Regions from separate parts of the Homo sapiens genome. Here region 2 is linked to region 1. The links are contacts of gene promoters, found by promoter capture Hi-C in blood cells and fetal thymus (Javierre and others, 2016). All regions are on one chromosome and are shown on one strand. Each heading gives the region's core, a stretch centred on a gene start or on the middle of the fragment in contact. The rest is flanking DNA. Distances are from core to core; before and after follow the strand shown.

Evidence for each region. Contacts are between HindIII fragments. The CHiCAGO score rates a contact against its expected background, and 5 or more counts as called.
Region 2: a contact is called between a fragment that was not itself captured here and the fragment with the promoter of STAT5B in region 1, in 2 of 17 cell types (fetal thymus and endothelial precursors). The highest score is 7.8, in fetal thymus.

The regions. Positions count from the first base shown.
Region 1 is chr17:42,273,939-42,278,631 of GRCh38, forward strand. STAT5B (signal transducer and activator of transcription 5B) reads right to left here and starts at 2,453. Exons shown (of 19, transcript NM_012448.4): 1 at 2,310-2,453. RefSeq lists a silencer at 2,086-2,695. The HindIII fragment of the contact is 9,010 bases long and covers 1,818-4,693 here.
Region 2 is chr17:42,534,002-42,538,579 of GRCh38, forward strand. It overlaps NAGLU (N-acetyl-alpha-glucosaminidase), which reads left to right and starts at 2,240. Exons shown (of 6, transcript NM_000263.4): 1 at 2,240-2,654; 2 at 3,397-3,544; 3 at 4,338-4,484. The coding sequence starts at 2,272. It also overlaps the pseudogene PTP4A2P1. RefSeq lists enhancers at 1,953-2,032, 2,546-3,283 and silencers at 2,143-2,552, 2,673-2,742. The HindIII fragment of the contact is 1,324 bases long and covers 2,667-3,990 here.

The DNA of each region.
Region 1 (4,693 bases), core at 1,203-3,702:
AGAGAGGAAGAAAATGGAGATGAGATGAAAAGTCAGAGCAGGATAGGAAGTGTTGACCAAAATATTTATGTTGTAACACTCCAAACGATGATAGCACATTTTTCTCCTACAATCATACATACTATGAAGTACACACCTTAAATTTCTGAACACAATCCATATTAATATCCCGTGGGCAAAAAATACAAGCACCGAAAAGGTGAGAACTGATGAGAAGGTGGGATAGTTTACCTAGTTGGGTATATAGCAAAGATTATTTTGTGCAGAGTTTAGCTTCAAGTTATGCAATAACCAAACTACTGGTGATAGAAATCAACTTTTTTTTTCTGATGGTTTGCTTTACAAAAAAAAAAAAAAAAAAAAAAAAAACCTCTCCATTCCTTCCCTGTGTCTCAATCTGGAGCTTGAAATTTCATCTTCCAGAGGCTACAGTAGCAAACAAGTCATCTCCTAGATAACGCGCTTACCTGACCCAAGGTGTGGACTTGTTTGAATTAAACGTAACAGATACCACAAATTGTCACATAGGAAGTTTTTCTTAAAATCAGCAGCCCCTTCTCTTATTTAGCCATGTCCATTCTAACAACTGTGATCTTCCATGAGATGGAAACTGGTACCCAAATGAATAAACAAAACAACCCAAAGCCTTAAAATAAAATCAATCAATAAGATTCTCCCCATTTGAAGTGATCAGAACCACTCCAATATTTACAGTGTTACAAAATGAAATTTTAAAACATGAAAGGCACACTCAATAAAATACATCCTCACCTAGGAACTCACAGGCAATGAACATAACGCAATATAACATAAGCAAATGGACAACAATAGAATGTTGGGGAGAGAGGCACAGTTCTATTACCTTAATTGAAAGATAACAAAATTATTTGAAATAATGTAGACCCAACAGCTGAAAGCTTATTATGGCCCAGGCGGCTATCCAACAGCTTTGGAAACCTAAGATCCAAGCAGACCATAAACACCACTTGAAGACTGAAAAAAATGACATAAGCCCAAGTATGATATTCAGTGTCACGCTGGCCCTTTCAAAGGGCATTCCCTGAGGACACTGCAGAGAAAATGTATGGAATTGTATCTAGGCAAAGATCTGTATACTGCACGATGCTTTGGGAAGAGCACGAATCTCAGAGTCCTTGAAGTTTCAATCCCTGGATACTCAACAAACAGCCGTGTCACCTGAGCAGGCCACTTACTCCACCTATCTGGGCCTCAGTTTCCTCATTTGTACAATAAAAGAATGGCATCATCGCTGGGTTCCTTTCCAGCTCTAACATTCTTTGACCCACTTTTGGCACTATTTATTTGATACGAGGTATGGCGGGATCACAGGGACCAAGAAGAAAAGAACTGACTCTGGCTCTTTGGCAAAGAGAGAATCGGTATCTCTTTTAGTCTTTAAAATTCTTGTGCTTTTCATTAATCCCGTCTTTCTAAAAGCTGACACTTGGTTTTCTTCTTTGGCTTTTCCATCACTGCTGGCTACAAGTGTTTGCAACCGCCTCTTGCTCCGTGTGAGTTCTTTCCTCTTTGTTCACCCCGACCATCTTGCCAGATTCCTTTAGCCTCAGACCAGCTTTTGTGATACAACTCCCCTTCCGACTCTCCATATCTACCCCCCGACACCAGGAGCACTTTTAACCCTTTATCCCTGACTAGAAAGAAAAAGCACACTGCATCCCACGGCCACACGCACGAGCCCAGGCCTGGCGGGTCCTGATGTGGGATCCCGCCCCCCAGAGTCTTATCGAAACGTTCGTATTTGTTGTCTTGATTCCTTATAAGGCCCTGTTTCTTGAAGCTTTGCTAATACCCCCCACCGCACCAGGCACCCCCGCAGGCTCATCCCATCCCCGGAGTCCCGGGAACCTCTTTTGAAAGAAAGAAGTTAAAGCAAGGAAGACGGCTGGGGATATTCGGAATTGCAACGTGAAGGTGTGAGGCGGCTGACAGCAGCCCCCTGAGCTCCTATGGGGTCGGCGCGGGGTCCCCACACACCCACTCAGCACACGCGCACGCAGCCTTTAAAGCGCACGCCCCCCGCGGCGCCGCGGCGTTCGCAAGTCCCCCTCGCGCACCCCGCATTGCCCTCAGCCTCCCCGGCAGCCAACCCGGACCCCCTCTCCCCGCGCGCGCCCCTCGCCCAGCGCGCAACCACCGCGGCCCGGGAGTGATGGCGGCGGCGCGGCCCTGACGGGCGGCTGAGCGGCTGGAGCGCGGGCCCCGCCCGGGCTGGCTCCCCGGCCTGGCTCCCCCGGCCCCGGGCCCAGGGCTCGCCCCGCAGCTCCTACCTCGCTCGGCCCCTCGGGCGCCCGCGGCTGCTCCGGCCCAGCTGTCTGGCTTGCCCGCCCGCCCGCTCGCTCCCTCCCTCGGCCGGGCCGCCGCGCGGAGTTGCCTGCGCTGGGTCCCCGCCCGGGGTGACGGCTCCGGCCGCCGACTCTCCTCCCGCCGGGGCCCGCGGGGGCGCGCGCGCCGCTCACGCGCGGAGGCCCAGGGACGCGCGCCGCTGGCAACCCGGAGCGCGCCCCGCTTCCTGGTTCCGCCCGGCGCGCGCTCGCTAGCCCGCTGTCCCTCGCGCCCCCTCCGCGACCGCCCTTGAAGGACCCGGACCCCCTCGGCACACCCGAGGTGGCGGCGCGCTCGGCGGTGCCGGTGCCGGCGCCGCGCGCACCCCCTTTCTGCGGCGGTGGGGTGTCTTCCCGGCTCGGCTCCCTAGCCGACGCCGCACCGCAAGCACATGCTGCTTTGTTTGGGTTGGGTCGACCACCACTAGCAGGGCTAGGGCGCACTGTCGTGGTCGTTTTGGTTGGCCCCCTCCGCGGCCCGCCCACCTCTCTCCCTGGGAGCCCAGGCCCGCGTTCCGGGTCCTCTCCCGCCGAGGCCGAGGTCAGAAGTCCACAGGGGCCCCGATCAATAATTATCCTGGGTTTGCCCCCGGGAGGGCGTCTCAGCCAGGGCTCCTGCCGCCTGCATGGGCACGGCAGGAATTCACATTCGCCCAGGCCGAATTCACCTGTCCGAGTTCCAGGGTGAACCTACGGGGGACGGGGCGCCTGGGGCCGGTTCCCTTCCTGGGAAAATCTGGCTGGCTCCCACCAGTCAGAGCTGCGGGAGGGACTGCTCTCTCTAGAGAAGAAAGAATAAACAGGGTCATCTGTAGGATCCAGGGGAAGGGGGTCCCCCAGATCCTTTCCACGTGCTGAGGAGGGGGTTGCGGTTGTGGGAAGCCAGGCTGAGTCACCCACTCTCCTTTCCTCTGCTACGTCTATCTCCCGGAGCTGGCCAGCGGTTTCCCTGGCAACCCTCCAAGGGCTAGCACTAAAGCAAGACATAGGAAAGCTCCAGAAGCCAAGCTGCAGGGGCCAAAAGAGAGAGAAGGACCCCTCCCGCCCCCACTCAGACACACAGAGCTCCCCTGTGTGTATGCAAAACGTTCATGTCCAGAGATGGCCCAGAGCTGCAAGTTCTCCCATAGTCCTCCCTGGGCAGCTCTTTCCAGCGGCCTTCTCTTCACCTCCAGAATGACACCAGCCACAAAGGTCTCCAGCTGGTCAAAAAACCCTTCTCCGCTACCCAGGCCACTGCTGCAGTCCCATACTCTGGGCCAACACCTGGCACAGTGCTTTGCACAGAGTAGGTTCAGGGAGCTTGGAGGCCAGAGAAGGAAGCAGGAAGCAGGATGGATGCGCCAACCAACCCCGAGCTCTCTGGCAATCTCCCTGACAGTTACTGCCCATGATGTTTTGACACTCAGGTGCTCCATGTTCTCCATATTTCTCTTTTATCTTTTCTTTTTCTTTTCTTTTTTTTTTTTTTTGAGACGGAGTCTCTCTCTGTTGCCCAGGCTGGAGTGAAATGGTGCGGTCTCAGCTCACGGCAACCTCCACCTCCTGGGTTCAAGTGATTCTCCTTCCTCAGCCTCCTGAGTAGCTGGGATTACAGGCGCACACCACCACATCCGGCTAATTTTTGTATTTTTGTAGTAGAGACGGGGTTTCACCATGTTGGCCAGGCTGGTCTCGAACTCCTGACCTCGTAATCTGCCCGCCTCAGCCTCCCAAAGTGCTGGGATTACAGGCATCAGCCACCGCACCTGACTCATGTTTCTCTTTCTTGTGAGCTTTCATCCCTGCACACATGCTATTCCCTCTGCCTGGAATGTCCTGCCTTCTTGATGTCTGCCCTTCGGTGACATTTGCTTCAGGCAGCATGACCTCCCTCCTTGTTTCCCACCGCGTTATTCATGCCTCTATTACAGCACTTCTTGTGTTGAAGGACAATTTCATGTTTTCATGTTTCTGTCTCTGTCCCCAAGGGCAGACGCAATATGCTATTCACTTTTAAATCCTCCTACTCGTGTTCAAGCCCAGAACAGACACTCAATAAATATTTTTGGAACAAATGCTATGCTCTAGGAATGCAAATGGAGGTTACAAGGACTATGCAGTCATTAAGAGGACAGGGTCTAGCCCGGTGTGGCGACACACACCTGTGGTCCCAGCTACTGAGGAGGCTAAGGTGGGAGGATCACTTGAGCCTGGGAGGTCAAGGGTGTGATGATTTTTTTTTATTTTTATTTTTTGGAGACAGTCTCACAGAAAAAGGTCTCATGGTGTGGTGGCACAATCACAGCTCAAGGCAACCTCCTGGGCTCAAGCAATCCTCCTGCCTCAGC
Region 2 (4,578 bases), core at 2,079-4,578, 260 kb after region 1:
ATGGGCATTGCTGTGTTCAGCAGAAAGAAATGTAAATGAAGGCTGACTTGATTGTGGCATTTAGAGGGAACTCCTGGTACCTGGAAATGTGAATCTGGACTCTTACCTGTGTCATCAAAGTAGTGATGGATTCAATACTCCTCAACCACTCTCCTAATGATCAGAACAAAAGCAAACAAGAAATCTCTCTATAAAATGAATAAAATGTTTAAGAAAAAAAAAGAGTTCGAGACCAGCCTGGACAACATGGTGAAATCCCATCCCTACAAAGGTTAACTGGGCTTGGTGGCACGTGCCTGTAATCCCAGCTACTCAGGAGACTGAGACAGGAGAATGGCTTGAACCTGGGTGGCTGAGGTTCCCGTGAGCTGAGATTAAAAAAAAAAATCATACTTCCCTAGTATCTAAAGTTGATATCTGATTCCAGGCCTCTTTCAACTTTTTTTGTTTGTTTGTTTGTTTTTTTGATATGGAGTCTCGCTCTGTCATCCAGGCTGGAATGCAAATGGCACGATCTTGGCTCACTGCAACTTCCACCTCCAGCGTTCAAGCGATTCTCCTGCCTCAGCTTCCCAAGTAGCTGGGACTACAGGCGTGTGCCACCAAGCCTGGCTAACTTTTTTTCTTTTTTTTTTTTTTGAGAGGGAGTCTTGCTCTGTCCCCCAGGCTGGAGTGCAGTGGTGTGATCTTGGCTCACTGCAACCTCCGCCTCTCCGGTTCACGCCATTCTCCTGCCTTAGCCTCCCGAGTAGCTGGGAGTACAGGCGCTCGCCAACACGCCCGGCTAATTTTTTGTATTTTTAGTAGAGATGGAGTTTCACCGTGTTAGCCAGGAGGGTCTTGATCTCCTGACCTCGTATCCGCCCGTCTTGGCCTCCCAAAGTGCTGGGATTACAGGCGTGAGCCACCGCGCCCAGCACCTGGCTAACTTTTGTATTTTTAGTACAGACGGGGTTTCACTGTATGTTGGCCAGGCTGGTCTCAAACCCCTGACTTGAGGTGATCTGCAAGCCTCAGCCTCCCAGAGTGCTGGGATTACAGGCGTAAGCCACCGCTCCTGGCCTAAGGTTGGCTATTTTTATGGTTATTTCTTGATTATATGATAAACAAGGGGTGGGTTAGTAATGAATTTTTCAGAAAAGGGGTGGGGATCCCCCCCAACTGAAGGTTCCTCCACTGTTTAGACCATATAGGGTAACTTCTGGACGTTGCCATGGCATTTGTAAACTGCCTGGCGCTGCTAGGAGTGTCTTTAGCATACTAATGCATTATAATTAGCGTATAATGAGCAGTGAGGACGATCAGAGGTCACCTTCCTGTCTTGGTTTTGGCAGGTTTTGACCAGTTTCTTTGCTGCATTCTGTTTTATCAGCGGGGTCTTGTGACCTTTTATCTTGTGCTGACCTCCTGTCTCATCCTGTGACGAAGGCCTAACCTCCTGGGAATTCAGCCCAGCAGGTCTCTGCCTCATTTTACCCAGCCCCTGTTCAAGATGGAGTCGCTCTGGTTGGAAACTTCTGACAAAATGACAGCTCCTGTTATGTTGCTGCTGCTGCCGCCAATGGACAGCCTTTAACGTGCCCGCCAGCCCTGCTCCACCGCCGGCCTGGGCTCACATGGCCCCATCCCTCCTCGAACCTCCTAGCCTGTTAGTTACTCAAATCTGCAAGCTCTCTGCCTTCTCAGGGCCTTCAATAAATGCATTTCTTCTGTCTGGAAGGCTCTTCCTTTCCCTCTTCTAGCCAATTCCTATTCATCCCTGAGTTTCAGATTAAAAGTCACTTCCTTTGGAAACCTTACTTCGCTACTTCGCTACTTACTGCACTACTTCGCAGCATCACAACTATGATGGAAATCCTTACTTACGTTAAATATCTGGTTTCTAGGTCACCTCCCTGACGGGGACGGTAGGGACCGTCTTCTCGTTCATCAGTAGGGAAGTAGCTATGGCAGTGCCTGATACAAAATAAACTCCAAATGTGTATTTATTAGATGGTTGGATGGAAGTTATTTGCGTGTGAAAGCGCGTTTTACCCGAAGGCGCTCTGTGAGGGCCAGCGGGTCCCCTTCGGCCCTGGAGCCGGGGTCACACGCTCCCCACCGCGTGCGGTCACGAGACGCCCCCAAGGGAGTATCCTGGTACCCGGAAGCCGCGACTCCTGGCCCTGAGCCCGGGCTTAGCCTTCGGGTCCACGTGGCCGGAGGCCGGCAGCTGATTGGACGCGGGCCGCCCCACCCCCTGGCCGTCGCGGGACCCGCAGGACTGAGACCATGGAGGCGGTGGCGGTGGCCGCGGCGGTGGGGGTCCTTCTCCTGGCCGGGGCCGGGGGCGCGGCAGGCGACGAGGCCCGGGAGGCGGCGGCCGTGCGGGCGCTCGTGGCCCGGCTGCTGGGGCCAGGCCCCGCGGCCGACTTCTCCGTGTCGGTGGAGCGCGCTCTGGCTGCCAAGCCGGGCTTGGACACCTACAGCCTGGGCGGCGGCGGCGCGGCGCGCGTGCGGGTGCGCGGCTCCACGGGCGTGGCGGCCGCCGCGGGGCTGCACCGCTACCTGCGCGACTTCTGTGGCTGCCACGTGGCCTGGTCCGGCTCTCAGCTGCGCCTGCCGCGGCCACTGCCAGCCGTGCCGGGGGAGCTGACCGAGGCCACGCCCAACAGGTACCGCCCCGAAGCTTCCCCGCGTCCGCCCGAGGCGCTTACCCCCTCCCGGAGCCGCTGCCACCCAAATCGGGAGGCTGAGCGGGGAGCGCTGGCCGGAAGGCCCAGCTGCGCCGCCTCCAGCAGCTGTGTGGCCTTGAGCCAGCCACTCTGCCTTTCAGAGCCTCGGCTGGCCCACCTGAAAAACGGAAAGAAGACGCCTACCGTGCAGTGTTATTGTGAGGATTTGCACGATGATGGGCATAGAATTTGTGGTGCACAATTGGTGATGAGTGAATTTTCTTGCCTTCCTCCCCCACCTTCTCTTTGAACCTGCGGACTGAGGAAGGACGCCTCCATCCCCCACCCTACAGGCCTGTGTTCCAGCGCCTGCCACACTATGGAGTGATGTGTTCACACAGCTGTCCTCCCCTGCCCATCTGTTAGACTGTGGGGGCAGGGATTCCCCGTTCCAGGAAAACACCGTGCAGAGGAGGGGCTCTGGCAGTGTGGCATGAAAGTGGAATATGCCACCCAAATACCCGCCAGGCTAGAGGGCCCTGGGAGAGTGCAGGGGACGAGTGCCTCAGAAGCCCAGCCCCGGTACCTGGTCTCAGCTCCACCTGGGGTGGGTCCCAGTGTGCAGCAGAAGGGCCGAGTTTGGAGCCCCTCCCCTCTCCTCTAGGTGGGGGATGGGGGATTTGTTCCAGGGCCGTGGACCCTCCAGGGTGGGATGCGCCCCTGCTCATGACACTGCCCGCAGGTACCGCTATTACCAGAATGTGTGCACGCAAAGCTACTCTTTCGTGTGGTGGGACTGGGCCCGCTGGGAGCGAGAGATAGACTGGATGGCGCTGAATGGCATCAACCTGGCACTGGCCTGGAGCGGCCAGGAGGCCATCTGGCAGCGGGTGCGTGCCCACTGTCCCTTCCCCACCCTCCTCTATGGCGGGAGCCACCGTAGGTGTTTTCACCCGCCCCCCAGCATGGGCGCAGTGTCTCTCTCTAGAAGTGCTTTCAGCGTGCACAGTGGCTTGGGCCTCCTAAAAACTGAGGCTTCCGGCCGGGCGCGGTGGCTCACGCCTGTCATCCCAGCACTTCGGGAGGCCTAGGCGGGCGGATCAGGAGTTCAGGAGATCGAGACCATCCTGGCCAACATTGTGAAACCCCGTCTCTACTAAAATACAAAGAAATAGCAACCTGGGCAACAGAGCGAGACTCTGTCTAAAAAAAAAAAAAAAAAAAACTGAGGCTTCCAGTTTGAGGAGTGGGGCTCCTTCCCCCATCTCCCCTATGCAGCCAATCACCTGGTCCCTTGGATCCAACTCATGGGCAGCTCTAGATCTGCCTCCCTGGAAGCTTCTGTGCTGCAATGGCTGCTCCAGGCTCTGCTTAAGCTCTTCACACAGTTGCCCTGCCCTTCCATCTGGCACTCTTGCTCCATGAAGCCTTCTAAGGCCTTCCTGTTGGGGGAAAGCCCCTTTGTGCCCCATCTCCTCACCCATGCGACAAAGGCAACACAGTGAACTCACCTACTCACAGGTCTCTTTCCTCTGGGCTGTGGGCTCCTTGATGGCAGCGTTCGGATTTTGTCTCAGTAGCCCTAGCACCCAGCACAAAGAAGCAATGAGTGAATGGTTGTTGAATGAATGAATGAATGAATGAAGATGAATATATTTCTATGTGTGGGCCCTTCTTCCTCAGGTGTACCTGGCCTTGGGCCTGACCCAGGCAGAGATCAATGAGTTCTTTACTGGTCCTGCCTTCCTGGCCTGGGGGCGAATGGGCAACCTGCACACCTGGGATGGCCCCCTGCCCCCCTCCTGGCACATCAAGCAGCTTTACCTGCAGGTAAAAGGATGGAAAAGGGAAGGGGCAGAATCGGTGATAGATGGTCATGGGCCCAGGAAGGGTGGTATTAGGCCGGCCCCAGGGCTCTTAACTG